5 separate regions of the Homo sapiens genome follow, and all the other regions are linked to region 4. Evidence: promoter capture Hi-C in 16 types of primary human blood cells and fetal thymus (Javierre and others, 2016). All regions are on one chromosome and are shown on one strand. The core of a region is centred on a gene start or on the middle of the fragment in contact, and the rest is flanking DNA. Distances in the headings are between cores, read along the strand shown.

Region 1 (3,675 bases), core at 441-2,940, 560 kb after region 4:
ATTTTTCAGCTCCAGAATTTCTGCTTGACTGTTTTTAATTATTTCAATTTGTTTGTTAAATTTATCTGATAGGATTCTGAATTCCTTCTCTGTGCTATCTTGAATTTCTTTGAGTTTCCTCAAAACAGCTATTTTCAATTCTCTGTTTGAAAGATCACATATCTCTGTTTCTCCAAGACTGGCCCCTGGTGCCTTATTTAGTTCACTTGGTGAGGTCCTATTTTCCTGGATGGTCTTGATGCTAGTGGATGTTTGTAGGTGTCTGGCCATTGAAGAGTTAGGTATTTATTGTAGTCTTTGCAGTCTGGGTTTGTTTGTACTCATCCTTCTTGGGGAGGCTTTCCAGGTATTCAAAGGACGTGGGTGTTGTGATCTAAGTTTTTGGTCACTGCAGCTGTATCTGCATTAGGGGGCATACCAAGCCCAGCAATGCCGTGGTTCTTGCAGATTTGTAGATGCACCACCTTGATGGTCTTAGATCACATCTGGAAGAATTCTCCGAATTACTTGTTCTCTTCCCTATCTCCCAGATGAATGCAATCTCTCTATATATCTATAAATATATAGACATAGACATAGACATAGACATAGACATAGACATAGACATAGACATAGACATAGACATAGAGATATACACCTGGCTGGGCTGCCTGGAGATTGGGGAGGGGTGACACCCCTGTCACTATCACCACTGGGACTGCACTTGGTCAGATCTGAAGCCAGCACACCACTGAGTTTTGCCCGAGGCCTGCTATAACCACTAGCTGACTACTCTCTATGTTCAATCAAGGCCCTAGGGCCCTACAATTAGCAGGTGGCAAAGACTGCCAGGCTTGTGTCCTTCCCTTAAGGGCAGTGAGTTCTCTTGGGCCCCAGGCAGGTCCAGAGATGCTATCTGTGAGCCAGGGCCTGCAATCGGAAGCCCTAGAAATCTGCCTGGTGCTCTATTCTACTGCGGTTAAGCTGGCAACAAAACCACAAGATAAAGTCCTTCCCACTCTTCCCTCCTCTTTCTCCAGGCAGAGGACTCTCTCCCTGTGTCCAGTACCACCACAGGCCCATGGGGAGTGCTGCCAGAGCGCCACCAATGTTCACTTAATGCCCAAGGACTCTTTAGTCAGCTTGTGGTGAATGCTGCCAGTCCTGGGACTCTCTTCAGGGCAGTGAGCTCCCCTCTGGCCTGGGGTAGGTCCAGAAATGCTATCCCAGAGCCAAGGCCTGGAACTGGGGACCCCAAGGGCCCAGTTGGTGCTCCCCCTATGTCTGAGCTGGTATCTAAGCTGCGAGACACAGTCCCCTTTATTCTTCCCTCTCCTTTACTCAAGCAGAAGGAGTCTCTCCTCGTTAACCACCACAGCTGTGAATGTGCTGGATCCCATCTGAAGCCAGCAGGTCTCAGAGTCTCACCCAAGGCCCATGGTATGTACTACCTGGTTACCACTGCTGATTATTCAGGGTCCAGGGGCTCTTTCGTCAGCAGGTGATGATTCCTGCCATTACTGGGTCCTTCCCTTCAGGGCAGTAGGCTCCCTTCTGGCCCAGGGTGTCTAGAAATGTCATCTAAGATCTAGGGCATGGAATGGGGGCCTCATGACTCTGCCTGGTGCCTTATCCTACCGTGACTGAGCTGGTACCCAAGTTGCATGACAAAGTCCTCTTTACTCTCCTCTCCTCTAACAGAAGGAGGGGGTCTCTTTTGGAGCTGTGAGCTGCGCTGCCTGGGTTTGGGGGATAGGGGATGCAAGTGCTCCCTGAGCCACCCTGGCTGGTGTCTCATTAGGTCATGTAACCCCCAAGTCCACTGGCTCTGAGCCCAGCACAGCACTAGGACTCACCTGGGTGTTGCAGTCCTTGTGGCCTGGTTTATTTAGAACCCAGAACACTTTAACCTATGGTAACAAGGCTTGCTGGAACTCAAGTTCTGACTGCTGAGATGGGTGATTCTCCTCTGTCTAGGCTGGTCTAAATGCTCCCTCCGTGGGCATCGGCTGAGTTCTACCCACTGCTGGCAGCAATGAGTTCCAATGCAAAGTCCCACAACTGCTGCACTCTCCTTTCCCCGTCACACAGGTTCTCTCTGAGCACCATGTGGCCACCGCCACAGGGATGGAGTCAGTGATCAAGACTGTCTTTCCTACCCTCTGCAGTGCTTCTTTCGGTAATATGAAGTTAAAACCAGGTACTGTGATCGCTCACCTGATTTTTAGTGCCCACGAAGGTGCTTTTTTGGTGTAGATCGTTGTCAAATTTGGTGTTCTTGTGAGGAGGATGGTTGGTGGAGGCTTCTGTTTGGCCACCTTGCTCCACCTCCAGCCTAACCATAAAAACCTTTTATGCCACATTGGTCCTCCTCATTCCCTAAAACTTGTTTTATGTAACACTTTAAATCTTCTGCCTCATTATAAAAGCCTTTTTAAAAATGTCTTCATGCTTCTCTTCTAAGGTACCGTTTCCTTTATCCTTTTCTGGCTACTGGTTTGTTTGTTGTTTGTTTGTTTTTAATACTTTTTTCCAGACACAGAATCCAGACCAGTTCCTGCTATTTTCCAACAGAAATCTCAAATTATGTTTCTCATTCCCACACCCCTCCGCTTCCTCTCACCCCTGCCCCTGCGACCTCTCTGACAGGTTTCCCTACCTCCTACCTTCCCCACTGCCCCATTCTGTTATACCTCCAGAATTGTTTTCCAAATAGAGAAATTCGTTTTTCTCTCTCCCTGGCTTCAAGACCTCCGACGACTCGTCGCTCCCTTAGTTACAGTCCGAATCCTCTAGCAAGGCCTCTAAGCCGCTGCAATAGTGGTTCTGGCCCCGTCCCCCGACCTCCCCGCCTCGTGTGACTGGGCAGCACTGAACCAGGCAGTCTCCCGTCTACTGGCCACACCTGGATGACCTACATCCTTGCATGCCTGTACTTGCTCTTCCCACCGTCTGTAATTACCTCTCCCAGCCCCCATCTGCCTGGTAAGATCCTATCCAGTTTTCCAATCCTCCCCTCCAGCCTTCCCACAGCCTCCCACAATTCACCAGGCCCTTCCTAACACCCTGCATCGCATGGGGGCTCCACTCACCCTGTCTGACTCACTTTTCAGGGCTCTGTTTCTCTATCGGCTGCATGGGGCACTCCTCGTAGGCAGAGGCCGTGACTGCTCTGTGCCCTGTATCCAGCCACTGGCCACATGACAGGCCACCCATACATCCATACAGGTTTGCTAAACTAAGTGAACTGCACTTTGGGCAAGTAACTAAACCTCTCTGAGCCCCAGTTTCTTCGTGGGTAATACAGGACTGTCACCACATGCTTCCTGTGGTGTCTGTCAGGGCCATGTGGAACACACATTGAGCCCGGGGGTTGCCACACTGTGCTTACTCCTAAGTGTTAGCACCAAACCTCCTCCCAGTCCCCGAAATGCCTTCTCCCCACAGATCAGTTTTCACTCCTAAGCCAGCTTTTCCCTCCCTCCAAATCATCCCTATCCGTTCGAATTACACAGGAAGCTGGAAGCTGACAAGAGGGTTCTCGCAGAAGGGAAGGCCTCTGTGTTCACTAAGCAGGAAGAGAAAGAACGGATCTGCGCAGGCATACACGCAGAGCAGGGCTGCTGCAGCCAAACTAAGGGAGATGAAGAGCTATCCTCAGCCAGCTCACTCCCTACTGGCCCCATCTCACCCCAA
Region 2 (3,572 bases), core at 179-2,678, 840 kb after region 4:
CTCGAAATGAAAAGAAGCCTCTTGGTATCAAGGAAAACAGTCACAAAGCCCACACACATTAAGCTGGTAATGATCCTCAGATGTCTTACTGTTGAAAAAGCCCAGCATGTTAAAGCTCAGGAAGAATCCCTTCAATGGGTTCTTGAGGACAAGACTGTATTTCAGATAGTATAATAATCAGTGTTCTGGGTTAGGCATGGTGACTTGTGCCTGTAATCCCAGCACTTTGGGAGGCCGGAGGCCGAGGTGGGCAGATCGCTTGAGCTCAGGAGTTTGAGACCAGCCTGGGCAACATGGTGAAACCCCATCCCCACCAAAAATACAAAAAAAAAAAAAAAAAAAATTAGCTGGGCATGATGGCACATTCCTGTAGTCTCAGTTACTGGGGGGCTGAGGCGAGAGGATCGCTTGAGCCCAGGAGGTGGAGGCTGCAGTGAGCTGAGATCGCGCCACTGCACTCCAGCCTGGGCGACAGAGTGAGACGCCGTCTCAAAAAAAAAAAAAAAAAAAAAAATATATATATATATATATATAACAATAATCAATGTTCATCATAAGAACAAGCTGGAGTCAATGAGTAAAGATTATGTTTGGTTTTTGAATATTGGAAAATGCACCACTCTCTAGCAAGATTTCCAAAAATGCTTACAAGCTGGAGTTTTGGTACAAGGCCTCAGCTGATTTGAGAAATTTTACTTCAGTGTAAGAGCTTGTTTTCAGATTATCCTGAATGTGTTAATTCTTAATACTCTCCACTCTGGAAAAAAGATAACCACCAAAGCGAGACAGGGCCACAGTGGTTCAGTCCAAGGAGAGATTTATTGTGAAAATGAAGAGTCAGGGTAACTGTATTCTAGTCTCTCCTCTGCCAAGAACCAGTTGAGTAATATTGACTTCCCTTTGCTTGCCTCTAAAAATTAAGGAAATTAGTTATTTCTGGTTTCTTTCTGGTTTCTAAGGAAATTAGCTGATTTTTGGTTTCTTTCTGGTTCTAATATTCAAACATGAAACATGAGGAAACATTAATAGAAAGGAAAAGGTGAATCACATTATGAGCAGGTATCATCCTTTTATTCACTCTGGCCATACTTGTTGAGAGTTCTATTGAGCTGGCCCATACCAAGCTCTGAGAATACTGTAGTAAGGGAAAGAGCTCCTGTCTTCATGGAGCTTTTTATTTAGTGAGGAAACCAGGCAACAAGCAAATAAACCAACAAGTTGAGGAAACAGTCTGAGAACCATAGGAAAGACATCTTTTTTACATGGAATAGGCAGGAAATAGCACCTCTGGGGGAGTTACGTTTGAACCTAAGAATGAGCAGAAAAGTTGCATGAAAAATTAGTAAAGAGCATTTCCAGCAGAGGGGCTTGCTAGTATCTAGGCCCTAACAGAGAAGAGAAACTTAGTAAACTGTACAAACTGAATAAAAAACCAAAACAAAATTTCTAATGACTGAAATAATTAAGTAGGAGTGGCACAAAAAATTTGAACAGGTATGTGGGAGCCAGTACAAAGTTTTGTCAGTCAGTCTAAGACACCTGGACTCATTCTTAAGGATGGTAGAGAAATTGCTGAAAGGCTTTAAGTAGGACAGCAACACTTACTGCTTTTTAAAAAATGGACTGGAGGCTGGGCGTGGGGGCTCACGCCTGTAATCCCAGCACCTTGGGAGGCTCAGGCGGGCGGATCATGAGGTCAGATCGAGACCATCCTGGCTAACATGGTGAAACCCCGTCTCTACTAAAAATACAAAAAAAAAAAAAAATTAGCCGGGCGCCTGTAGTCGCAGCTACTCGGGAGGCTGAGGTAGGAGAATGGCGTGAACCCGGGAGGCAAAGTTGCAGTGAGCTGAGATCACACCATTGCACTCCAGCCTGGGGGACAGAGCGAGACTCCGTCTCAAAAAAAAAAAAAAAAAAGGACTGGAAAGCTGGGTGCAGTGGCTCATTCCTGTAATCCCAGCACTTTGGAAAGCTGTCGCAGGAGGATCACTTGAAGCTAGGAGTTCAAGACCAGCCTGGGTAACCTAGCAAAACCCCCTCTCTACAAAATGTTTTAAAATTAGCTAGGCATAGTGGCACATCCCTATAGTCCTAGCCACTTGGGAGGCTGAGGTGAGAGGATCAATTGAGTCCATGAGTTTTAGGATGCAGTGAGTTATAAATGTGCCACTATACTCCAGCACGGGCAACCGAGCAAGACTCTGCCTCTTAAAAAGTTTTTTAAAAAGTATGATGGCTTGACTAAGGTATCTACAGTAGAGACTGAAGATGGTGAGAGATTTAGATACATGATGAAGGTATGGACTGGATTTGAGTATTTGAGAGAAAGAAATGAATCAAGGTAGACAATGTGGTGCTCAGTTATTGATTTTGGGAGAGTGTTTGGAGTGGGGGATAGAGCTATTAAGAATAGTTGGGAGGGGCCGGGTGTGGTGGCTCACACCTGTAATCTCAGCACTCTGGGAGGCCGAGGCAGGCAGATTGCCTGAGCTCAGGAGTTTGAGACCAGTCTGACTAACATGGTGAAACCCCGTCCCTACTAAAAAATACAAAAAAATTAGCCAGGCGTGGTGGCTTGCACTGTAATTCCAGCTACTTGGGAGGCTGAAGCAGGGGAATTCCTTGAACCAGGGAGGTAGAGGTTGCAGTGAGCCGAGATCCTGCCACTGCACTCCAGCTGGGCAACAGAGCAAGATTCTGTCTCAGGAAAAAAAAAAAAAGAACAGTTTGGAGGAAAAAAACTCAGTTTCGAACATGATGTTTATGATATACATAAGACATGTAAGACATGTAAGCAATAGACATCGTGATTCTTCTGTTCTACCTCTTTTATATATATTTTGCTTTTTGTCACAGTGATTATATATCTTTGTTCTAAGAACCACTTTTTATTTACCTTTTCAATGTGCATTCATTCCCCAGCAAAATTCCTGAGCACATACTTGGTGCTTAATAAAGGTTTAATAATGTTCTAAAAAACAAACATCTTTTCCTCTCAGCTTTATCAGTGTGTCCTCACTGAGTCCAGAAAATTTCAGACTCTAGGTCTACAGAACAATGCTTGAAGCTTAGAGTAATAGAGAATATTATTCTGGGTTCAATTTACTTAGTAATCTGTTCAATTCCACCCCATCTCCCAGGACTGTTTTTAAGAGTCCTAGATTGGATTACATACTTTGTGATTTACCATGAAAAACTAACTCTCAAAAGCTGGGCATAGGGCCGGGTGCGGTGGCTCACGCCTGTAATCCCAGCACTTTGGGAGGCCAAGGCAGGCGGATCACAAGGTCAGGAGATCAAGACCATCCTGGCTAACACAGTGAAACCCCGTCTCTACTAAAAATACAAAAAAAAAAAAAAAAAAAAAAAAATTAGCCAGGTGTGGTGGCAGGCGCCTGTAGTCCCAGCTACTCAGGAGGCTGAGGCAGGAGAATGGCGTGAAACTGGGAGGTGGAGCTTGCAGTGAGCCAAGATCACACCACTGCACTCCAGCCTGGGCAACAGAGCAAGGCTTCATCTCAAAAAAAAAAAAAAAAAAAAAAAAAAGCTGGGCATTGGCCGGGCACAGT
Region 3 (3,749 bases), core at 522-3,021, 530 kb after region 4:
ATATATTTCACCTATCAAATTGGCCTGTACCCACCCCTTCACCTCACTGAAAATCCCTGGGGGCCCACATATCCTTCAAGACAGCAGCAGACCCCATGCCACCCCCAGGCTTGGGACTGACAGCAGTGCAGAGAAGGAACATGCAGGCACCAGAGAAAACCCACAAAAGAAGTGAATCGAACATTAACATCTCCCTCTGTAAAACACAAAGAACAGAGCTCTAGCCACCACTCAGGCCTTTAAAGTAAGGAGCAAATGGCCTGACAGACACATTCTCTCCACTGTGTCAGTGTCTCTCCAGCAGGATTCCTCCGCCCAGTGTTTTTGCCATTGGCCTATTATTTATTCCTCACAGCCCCTTGGAGCAGTGTGCTGGGACTGTCATCCTCCATGCTGATGGGGCTGTGAGGCCAGGCACTGCTGTGCTTCTTGTCTGAGGTCATCAAGCAACTTGGGGACACATTAGTCAAGTCAGCCCCCGGAACAGAGGCTGAGACGAAGGTGGGGGCATCAGTTGACAGCTCAGCAAGGGAGAAGAAAGGCTGATAACCAACTGAGGAAATGACGGTCATGTCAGACACAGCCCTAAAGGAGGCGGCGAGGCAAGTGCTTTTAAAAAGCCTCAGGTTTTTGCTTCTAATAGAGCTTAGAATTCACCACACATAGTGTTAGAGAAAACTATCATTGGCCGGGCACAGTGGCTCACGCCTGGAATCCCAGCATTTTGGGAGGCTGAGGCAGGTGGATCATGAGGTCAGGAGTGCGAGACCAGCCTGGCCAGGATGATGAAACCCCATCTCTACTAAACATACAAAGATTAGCCGGACGTGGTGGCAGACGCCTGTAGTCCCAGCTACTTGGGAGGCTGAGGCAGAAAACTCGCTTGAACCCAGGAGGCAGAGGTTGCAGTGAGCTGAGATTGCACCACTGCACTCCAGCCTGGCGACAGAGCAAGACTCTGTCTCAAAAAAAAAAAAAAGAGAGAGAGAGAGAGAAAACTACCATCATCTTAAGCAAAGCTGGCATGGGTCTGTGGCTAAAAGGTCCTCGCTTTCTCTCTCCCTGACACACACACGCACACACACACACTCACTCTCTCACTCTCTCTCTCTCTCTCTCTCTCTCTCTCAGTGGCATCTTCGTGTTCCAGTCTGAACTGCTGGCCAGCCAGCCAGCCAGGTCAGGGATGAATGACAAGGTGGCCCAGAAGACCAGTCCTGGCAGCCACAGTGGCCGTGCCGAAGCCTGGTCTGTGCAGGGACTGTGGTCTTCATGGGTTGCTCAGGCAACTCAAGTATCTCACTACCCACAACCCGCAATGTGCTGCAGAAGCCAAGACGAACTTCATTAACACGCTTGACCTGTGGCAACCCTCATGACCCAGCAGCCCTGCAGAATCCAGCCAGGCTAGGAAACGCAGGGGCAGACAGTGAATAAATGTCTACAGCCCTCCGCTAAGATTCTGTGACACTGTTTTCAGATACACCCACAAAAAGGAAGCACTAATAGACCCAGCTGGGGACAGTTTATAAAGCAGTTTCACATGCAAGATAATCCCAATCACGCAAGATCATCAGAGCACAAATTTTCCTCCCCAGTTGCGAAGTCAGAAAATAGAGGTGGAGGGAGAGAGGACCTCTGGTTTAGAAGGGACTTGAGAAACACTCAAACATTGCTGTTGGGATTTTGCCAAACTCTGGAAAAGTCTGCCAAACTCTGGCAAATCGCCAAACTCTGGAAAAGTCTGCCAATTTTTTATAAAATGAAACAAGTAACTACCAAAAGACCCAGCTACTGTACTTTCAGGCATTTATATCAGAGAAATAAAAATTTATGTCCATACAACAAAATGCAGCTTTATGCATACTAGCCGCAAACTGGGGACAACCAAGCTGTCCTTAAATGGATGGTTAAGCAAACTGGTATATTCGCATGATGAAATACGACTCAGCAATTAAAAAGTGAATTACTGACACGCAACAACTGGAATGAACCTCTTGAGGATTATGTTGAGAAAAAAGGCCTATCTCAAAAGGTTACATACTTTAGGATTCCATTGATACACATTCTTGAAATACAGAAATGAAGGAGGAAATTAGTGGTTGCTACGGGTCAGAGGAGGTGGGTGTGGCTGTAAAAGGCAGCACGAAGGATCTTTGTGGGGATAAACGTTCTCAGCTTGATGGTATCAAAGTCACTATCCTGGCCGGGCACGGTAGCTCATGCCTGGAATCCCAGCACTGTGGGAGGCCGAGGCGGGTGAATTACCCAAGGTCACGAGTTCAAAACCAGCCTGGGTAACATGATAAAACCCTGTCTCTACTAAAAATACAAAAATTAGCCAAATGTGGTGGCAGGCGACTGTAATATCAGCTACTCGGGAGGCTGAGGCAGGAGAATCGCTTGAACCCAGGAGGTGAAGGTTGCAGTCAGCCGAGATCGTGCCACTGCACTCCAGCCTGGGCAACACAGCAAGGCTCTGTCTCAAAACTAACAGACAACAACAACAAAAACAATATCCTGGTTGTTGTATTTGCTATAGTTTTTGCAAGATGTTACCACTGGGGGAAAGTGGGTAAAGGATCTCTGTATTGCTTCTTACAACCTCATGGTAATCTACAATTATCTTAAAATTTAAAGTTTAATTTTTTTTTTTTTTTTTTTTTGAGAGGGAGTCTCACTCTGTCACCCAGCCTGGAGTGCAGTGGCACGATCTCAGCTCACTGCAAGCTCTGCCTCCCGGGTTCACACCATTCTCCGAGTAGCTGGGACTACAGGCCCCCACCACCACGCCCAGCTAATTTTTTGTATTTTTAGTAGAGACGGGGCTTCACTGTGTTAGCCAGGATGGTGTCAATCTCCTGATCTCGTGATCCACCCGCCTCGGCCTCCCGAAGTGCTACGATTACAGGCGTGAGCCACCACGCACGGCCTAAAGTTTAATTTTGAAAGAGAGAATGGGAAAGACTCAAGAGTCAACCAAATGAAACATGTAGTCAATTCAAGAATGTGAATCCTGCATGGATACTAGATGGCAATAAGGTGATTATTTATTGTTAGTTTTGCTAAATGTAATAAAAATAGCGCATTTAATACAAATAGTACTTTCCAGCCAGTTGCGGTGGCTCACACCTGCAATCCCAGCACTTTGGGAGGTCGCGGTGGGAGGATCACTTGAGGTCAGGAGTTCAGGACCAGCCTAAGCAACATGGTGAAACCCCATCTCTACTAAAAATACAAAAATTAGCCGGGCGTGGTGGCACGTGCCTGTAATCCCAGCTACTCAGGAGGCTGAGGCAGGAGAGTCACTTGAACCTGGAAGGCAGAGGTTGCAGTGAAAGATTTGGCCATTGCACTCCAGCCTGGGTGACAGAGCAAGACTCCGTCTCAAAAAAAAAAAGTACTTTTCTGTTAGAGAGACTTATCAAAATATTTAAAAATAAAATAAGATCTGGTATTTGCTTCTGGGGGAGAAGGCGATGGGTGGGAGTCGAGATGAAAAGGGGCAGGCCATGAGTTGGTAACTACTGAAGCCGGTGATGAGTACACAGGCATTCATTATGCTCTCCTCTCTCCTTCTGTGGATATTTGAAATTTTCCATAATAAAAGGTGGAGGGGGAAAAAAAAAGGCCCACGGAGGATGTTCAGTGCCTCGCCATCAGTAAGAGAGAGAAACAAGGCTTTAACCTGGGTCTTCAGACCCTTCTACCACAGGCTGAGCCAGCCTGGAAGAGCCACGAGGGCAGGT
Region 4 (3,554 bases), core at 408-2,907:
ACATAGTGACCCAAAGGTGTATGTACATATAATGATACAAGCATTCAAGTACCGTTCAGTACAGTAAAATGGCAATAGAAGAATACTGAAACCACACCCTATTACATGCAACATTCTGATATTTCTCTATCTTGCTGGGGAAAAAATAAAAACAAAACAAAACAGCTAGCTGCAGACCACTAAATTGACTTCCAGACACAACCCAGAGTTTGATAACCATCACCCTAAGCTATATACTTAGTATAGATACAAATAAAAAAAAATTGCCAGGCGTGGTGGTTTGTGCCTGTAACCCCAGCTCCTCAAGAGGCTAAGGCAGGAGGATTGCTTGAGGCCAGGAGTTTGTGATCAGCTTGGGCAACACAGCAAGACCCTGTCTCTCCAAAACAAACAAACAAAACCAAACAACCAGGCCTGATGGTGTGCACCTGTAATGCCAGCTACTCAAGAGACTGAGGCAGGGGGATTATTTGTGCCCAGAAGTTTGAGACTGTAGTGAATTGGTGAGTTATGATCACACCACTGGCACTCTAGCCTGGGTGACAGAGTGTGACCCTGTCTCTAAAAATGAATAACTGAATGATGAATGAATTTCCTAAATAAATATTAAGGGCCAAAAGTTTAAGTGGGCATAGAATCAGCAAAAATAAGGAATTAGGATCCAATTCTTTACCATTCATGTTCAATCTTCCCACAGTTTCCTAAAAGGCTTCATTAGTAACAAGTTGCTTCAAAGCTAATAAAAATTACCAGTAATCTAATGTCCAGAGTAACTCTGACCTGATGAATACTGATAAGCACTCCATGCTGTTTACTCTGCAGACTATATGGATGAAAGTCAGCTGGTGTGACAGTGGCACACGCTTACTTAGCTCCAGGGACATATTTAACTAAATTTAGCACACGATCTTAGCACTCAACATGTTCTCATTCATTCCCGGGGGAATGAATGGTGAAAATAACGACTAGAATGATGAACACAAGCCAAATCACTTCATTCATTTTTTTAAAGATCCTTCTATAACCTAGTAAAATATTAGGTCTTGTCACACCTGAAAAATCAATGATTTATCTTTGAGCTAAACCACTAGGGGGTGCTTCGCAAGGATGAGGCAAGGATCTGAATTATTTTATATTTCTGGCAGTAACCAACCGCTTCTGGAGGATCCATTCTTTGAACAAATCAATACAAAAATACGTTTTGTCTTTTTCCTGCTCTGGAAGTTCCAAGCACTTCAGTGGCTTCTAGGGCAAAACCCAAACGTACTCAAGACCTGGCATTGAAGACTCTTCAGATTCTCACTCCACGCCTCATCACCACACTAACTCTTCTTTCAAGCTTCTCCTACCTTTGTGTTCTGGGCCTTGCCAGGAGGAGGGCCTGCTACTCAGCTTGGCAGAAACTCCAACTCATCCTTCAAAACCCGGCTGAGGCGTCCCTCCTGCAAAACTTATCTGACTTTTGACCCCGAATTTTGCAGCACTCAGGCTAGACAGAAAAGATAAGAAAGATGACATGGTCTGTCTTACCCAGGAGTCAGTGTGACGATGGCTTCGGCTCCGCTGAGTCTGATGGCGCATAAGGGCCCGTCCCAGCGACCCACCGGCCGGGGCTCTCCTCCGGCCCATGGCAACACGACCGCTGGACGAAGCTTCCCGGCTCGGCGCGTGCAGTTTCCGGGATTCACAGTTCGATCCCCGGAAGTGACGATAAGCGAGCCCAAGTAGTTCAGGCTCAAACTTGAGAGGGGAAAGCAGAATGACTTGTTCTCAAGTTCTCCTTTTACGTCTCGATTTTACCAGTATTATAGAATATAAGTGAAAAAATGGTTCTGGGAAATTTTCGATAGATTTCCTGGCGAATGTCTCGAGTTTGGATAAATGACTGAGTTAAAAGAATGGTCCATTCTTAATTTGTGCGTCGGTCTTTAGCGTCCGGCGAGAAACTAGAGCACGTCGGAAACATGGCGGTTCCTATTCGCGGCACTAGCTCCGCCTTCCGCTGCTTCCGTCAGGAGGACGCGGAGACTCGGAGGAAGAGTGTTTCGGTGGCGCTGGGACGGGGGCGTTTCCCAGCGCTGGTTTTCTGCTGGCGTCCCGAGGTGTGGTCTCTCCGAGGTCCAGCACAGCAACTAACTTTTTGTTTATCTAGCCGACCCCAGCTGCGAACTGGGGAGAAAAGTCTTCGCCTGGATGTGAATTTGGAATGAGAGGCTGAATAGTATTTCCAGAGCTTGGCAAGGTTGTAGGAAAAGCCAACAGGAAGTGACTTACGCTTTATTTCAAAGAAAAAAAAAATGTTTAAACAGTTCTAATTATATTTTCATTACCCTTTTTAAAAATAATTAAAATGAAAGTGAAAACAGTGAGCCAGCTCCACTCCTAGAGGCCTGGGCTTTTGTTCCTCACTTGAATGTTTGATTTCCCTATAATGGGAATAATAGAAAGTCAGCTTAGAGTGGCTGGTGAACTACATTCTCATTGATCCAGAGAACCATCTCTTTGTTTTGATGCTTGGAGAGAGGAAGCAGCTTGAGCAAGTCGTAGATTGAGTGCGTGCAGTGTCAGGAATAAACCCAAGTCTTGTCACTAGCCTGTACACCCCTGGGGAGAGTGGGGAATGAGGGTTGTTAACATGTATTATTTATTTATTTTTATCTTTTGAGACAGAGTCTCGCTGTCCCCCAGGTGGAGTGCAAAGGCATGATCTCGGCTCACTGCAACCTCTGCTTCCCGGGTTCAAGTGATTCTCCTGCCTTAGCCTCCCGAGTAGCGGGAATTACAGACACGTGCCACCGCACCCAGCTAATTTTTGTATTTTTAGTAGAGACAGGGTTTGACTATTTTGGCCAGGCTGGTCTCGAACTCCTGACCTCAGGTGATCGCCCGCCTCGGCCTCCCAAAGTGCTAGGATTACAGGTATGAGCCACTGCGCCTGGCCAAACATGTATTTTTAAATCATAGGATCGAGGTAATGCATATATTACCTAGCATAGCTTGATTTAGCCATTCCACAATGTACACATATATCAAAACATTATGCGGTACAACGTAAGTAATAAACAATTTTTAGTTGTCAATTAAAACAACAGCCAAAAAGAAATAAATAGGATCAAGAATCTGTTTAACCTAGGGCTTTTCACACTTTAATGTGCATATAAATCCCCTGGGAATCTTGTTAACATGCAGATTCTGATTCATAAGCTCTGGGGTGAGGCCTGTGGCTCTAACAAGCTTCCAGGTGATACCCATAGTACTGGTCCTTGGGTCACACTTTGAGTAGCAAGCGTAGTCCACTCTTTCCTGGTGCAAATGAAGACACAGAAGTGGACTGGCTAAAGGTCAGTCATAGCAAGTTAGCATCAGGCGAAACTGGGTCCAGACTCCCACCCATTCTGAATTCCCTGCCAGGGTTTCTGTGTGCTGCACCTTACCCCTCTTACTGAATTGAAGTGAGTTTTGGGAAATGCCCAAGGGACTGCTGGCAAGCTGTGAAGCAGTTGGCAACGCTTTGAGAAGGCAGTGCTCACAGATGAGCAAAGGAATGCATCAGA
Region 5 (3,485 bases), core at 853-3,352, 510 kb after region 4:
GGGCAGTTTCCCCCACGCTGTTCTAGTAATAGTCAGTTCTCATGAGATCTGATGGTTTGATAAGCATCTGGCATTTCCCCTACTGGCCCTCAGTCCCTCCTGACCCCTGGGAAGAAGGTGCCTGCCTCTCCTTTGTCTTCTGCCATGATTGTAAGTTTCCTAAACAATGTGGAACTGTGAGTCGAAACCTCTTTCATTTATAAATTACCCAGTCTCGGGTATTTCTTCGTAGCGGTGTGAGAACAGACGAATACAGTGTGTCTCCCACTGAACTCTTGGGATTCAGGCTACGATTGGTCTGTCCTTTGGGTCTCTGAAAAATTGGCTTCCATCTGTTGTGGCCAGTGCCAGAAGGTCTGGTTCTAGGAATCCAAAAAGGTTAGGTCATTTTCAGGAATCCAGGGGACTCAAGTCCCTCCAGAATGATCCAAAGCTCTGCTATGGTTGCAAACAGGAAGGGAGTGAAACTACCAAGGAGCCCAGAACCCAACTGTTACCCACCCTGGTCCCCAGGAAAGGGGCAATTTGGGACCAACTAGGACTCTACCCCTCAACAGTCCAAGACTAGAAGGGAACCAGTGTGAAGGCTGAATGGTCAGAAAAAAACTGGAAGGCCTGACACTTCCCAGGATCGAAGGGCTATGTGATCCACTTGGCTGCCCTAGACCATCTGTGAGGCATATCATTTTGAGAGAAGAACACTGCCTTAAATTCTGGAATGAAAATCTTTTGTTAGAATACAGGCTGAATTTATAATCTACAAAGGAAGAGAAAGAGAAAAGACACACAAATGGCCTAGTTTGTGCAACACTGTCCAGCACACTTAAACTCATTTAATCAGCATCATTGAGCTATGAGCAAAGACAACCATCAGAGCAAGATACACAGGTGGGCCCTGCACAAAGACCACCCGTGTAAGGCCCTGTGTCGGTCCTTTTATTAAGAGTGAGTTAATTCAGTGCAAAAGAACAATGGACAAGCTTGGCAATTGCTTCAGTTTTACAACAGACGATATCAATTTTTCACATAACTTTCCAAAATGCTAAATGTGACTGGCTTTTAGCCCAATATGTGGAGCTCTCCATACCTCAGTTGACCTCCTTTTGGATTTCAAGCTGTCAAACACCTTTAGATCATAACAAAGGGCTAACTGAACGGCATGATCTTTAAACCGAAAACATGATTAAACCTTTGCCTTTAAACTGAAACCATGATTAAAATCCCAACTCACCTTGTTGGCTGACACCATACCTCAGACTATCTTAATAAATGGCCTCCTAATTCTGGAAGTTTAAGAAAATCCTCAAAATGGTTTGGAAGAACCCCCCCAAGAAACATTTAAGTCTCCCTGATTAGGTCTACTTACCCAGAAACAAGGTCTCTTCAGGACTCACCGGAGAACCAACAGAATTCCTTCCCCACCCCACACACAGCCGGTAAAACTTCCAATATTTGAGTCTATCATAGACACAGTAGGCTGGGAAAATATTCCAGGGAACTTAGCATTCTGAAAGAAGTGACTACTTCAATTAGGAAAAAAATCTGAAGTTCCCTTTCAGGCCAAATCATTCTCATTCATCTTTACCAATAAAATGGTCTACATTCAAATGGTAAGTTTGATCCCCGCATCATCAATCATCCTTTCAGTTTCGTTTGATCAAATGTTGGGCATTTATACAGCTCATTTTACAAACCATACAAATCAGAAGGTAGAAGTCAGGAGGGCCTGGCACCCCTCATGCCTGCCCTCTTGCAGAGCAGTGACAGCTCCACAAATGACCTCACTCCCATTAAAGAAAAAAGGAAGGAAAGAAGGAAGAAGGAAGGAAGGAAGGAAGGAAGGAAGGAAGGAAGGAAGGAAGGAAGGAAGGAAGGAAGGAAGGAAAAAAGAAAAAGAAAAGGAAAGGAAAGGGGAAGGAACAGAGGGTGCTGGAGAATAGGGAAGAAAGGTCTGTTCTGGGAAACAGAACAGTAGGGGTTTTGGAATGCTCAGTGTCTTAGAACTTAGACTAAAGACTGGAAACACCAGCTCAGGGAATATTCCATCGTGGTCATCTGATTGCTGGAACATGAAACTTGGAGCACATCTGCAGTGAAATGGGGGAGGAATAAAGATACTGAAAGGACATTCTCCAGAACCATGAGGACAGAGAGACTTCAGCAGAAAATAGGCCACTAGTATTTTGGGGTCCTGCTTCAGGAGCAAAACTTTGGTCCAGAGAGGTTTAGGGCTGGGTTTTTTTTTTTTTTTTTTTCACTTTGATTTCTGAGGTCACTGAAGGACCATGGGTAATAAGGTCAATTTGTGCTGATTTATAAAAATCAGCCTTCTGACTTCAGAGCTGTGGCACACATTATTTTAGACTCTGAGGTCATGTTAGTCACAGGTGTTGGGCTGGCCTGGCCTGAGGAGCAGGTCGACACACCCTCTGGGCGCTGAGGGACACAATGGGGACGGCATCTTCACTTTCTTCCTTCCGGTCCTTCCTGAGTGCTTGCAAGTGAGCCCAACCCTTACTTCTCTAAAAGAGGCTCACACCCCATCTACATACCTGGACACTCCCTCTCCTTGCACAACAAGACCAGAGGCCTCTCCCTTCCCTTTCCCACCTCTCTTCAGTCACTTTCACTCAGACCTTTCTTTTCCTGTGAAGGCTTCCTGCTCCCTTGGCCCTCAAGCTCTGAAGACCAGTCCACAGCTTTCTGGCTCTAGGGTCCCTGCAACACCTACCACGAGCTCTCAACCTCCCCTCTCACCTAAGAAGTCCAGGCCACTGTGCTCCTAAGTGCCTGGACCGCCTCCTCAGCTGCCTTCTGCTACATGATCAAGTTTCCCCAGAACTTTTGAAAGCCACCACAGAGCTGCTCCCAGACATGTCATTCCCCTCTTCAAAACCTTCCATTGCTGGTTCCCTCACCACAACCCAACAACTGGAACTCTTCGTTGAGCTTCACTGTGCTCTCCAGGGATCCTCAAGTCCAGACCATTCTTTCAGGTCCATCCCACAGAAGAACGCATGCAAAAGTACTTAAGTCACTGGATGAAAATGCAAACCATATTACTCCATTGGTTAAAATGCCACCAGTGGTTGCAAATCCCACTGTCCCCAGGATAAAGTCCCCAATCCCTCGCACAGCTTTCAAGGCCCTGAATAGCCTGACCGGGGTGTGCTCCAGGCAGCTAAGGCTTCAGCTTCTGGGGCACATCAAGCTCCTTCCACCCACAAAGCTTTTCCACTCAATATGCTCTCGGCCTCACTCTTCTTCCTCCGTGTCTTGGCCTGGCTAAGTCCCACCCACTTGTCTCACCTTAAATGTCACTGTCTGGAGGAAGTCTTTAGTAACAATCCCCCCCCACACACCCTGAATCCCCCACTCGGGCAGCACCTGGACTTCCCCTTCGTTGCCCTTATTGCAGCTGTTCCCATTATCTGCTTAATGTCTATCTTCACTGTACATTCCATGAGGACAGAGACCGACCCCAT

What was found. The method cuts DNA at HindIII sites, captures the fragments that hold promoters and counts their contacts. A CHiCAGO score of 5 or more calls a contact.
Region 1: a contact is called between a fragment that was not itself captured here and the fragment with the promoter of LSG1 in region 4, in 3 of 17 cell types (M0 macrophages, endothelial precursors and M1 macrophages). The highest score is 7.2, in M0 macrophages.
Region 2: a fragment that was not itself captured here is called in contact with the fragment with the promoter of LSG1 in region 4 in 3 of 17 cell types (total CD8 T cells, naive CD4 T cells and M0 macrophages); the score reaches 8.4 in total CD8 T cells.
Region 3: a fragment that was not itself captured here is called in contact with the fragment with the promoter of LSG1 in region 4 in 4 of 17 cell types (M0 macrophages, megakaryocytes, M1 macrophages and 1 more); the score reaches 5.9 in M0 macrophages.
Region 5: a contact is called between a fragment that was not itself captured here and the fragment with the promoter of LSG1 in region 4, in 3 of 17 cell types (endothelial precursors, erythroblasts and megakaryocytes). The highest score is 6.4, in endothelial precursors.

What each region holds. Positions count from the first base shown.
Region 1 is chr3:195,235,329-195,239,003 of GRCh38, forward strand. All of the region lies in intron 1 of XXYLT1 (xyloside xylosyltransferase 1), which reads right to left. Among named protein-coding and RNA genes, the nearest start is that of XXYLT1, 34 kb to the right of the region's middle. The HindIII fragment of the contact is 3,969 bases long and covers 1-3,675 here.
Region 2 is chr3:195,507,518-195,511,089 of GRCh38, forward strand. No RefSeq gene overlaps it. Among named protein-coding and RNA genes, the nearest start is that of PPP1R2, 34 kb to the right of the region's middle. The HindIII fragment of the contact is 3,279 bases long and covers 1-3,068 here.
Region 3 is chr3:195,203,377-195,207,125 of GRCh38, forward strand. All of the region lies in intron 2 of XXYLT1 (xyloside xylosyltransferase 1), which reads right to left. Among named protein-coding and RNA genes, the nearest start is that of XXYLT1-AS2, 57 kb to the left of the region's middle. RefSeq lists an enhancer at 3,322-3,749. The HindIII fragment of the contact is 5,212 bases long and covers 1-3,749 here.
Region 4 is chr3:194,670,534-194,674,087 of GRCh38, forward strand. It overlaps LSG1 (large 60S subunit nuclear export GTPase 1), which reads right to left and starts at 1,658. Exons shown (of 14, transcript NM_018385.3): 1 at 1,531-1,658. The coding sequence starts at 1,629. LOC124909474 reads right to left here. Exons shown (of 3, transcript XM_047449428.1): 3 at 3,131-3,554. The HindIII fragment of the contact is 1,582 bases long and covers 1,651-3,232 here.
Region 5 is chr3:195,183,268-195,186,752 of GRCh38, forward strand. The region is part of intron 2 of XXYLT1 (xyloside xylosyltransferase 1); the gene reads right to left. Among named protein-coding and RNA genes, the nearest start is that of XXYLT1-AS2, 37 kb to the left of the region's middle. RefSeq lists an enhancer at 971-2,170. The HindIII fragment of the contact is 2,249 bases long and covers 979-3,227 here.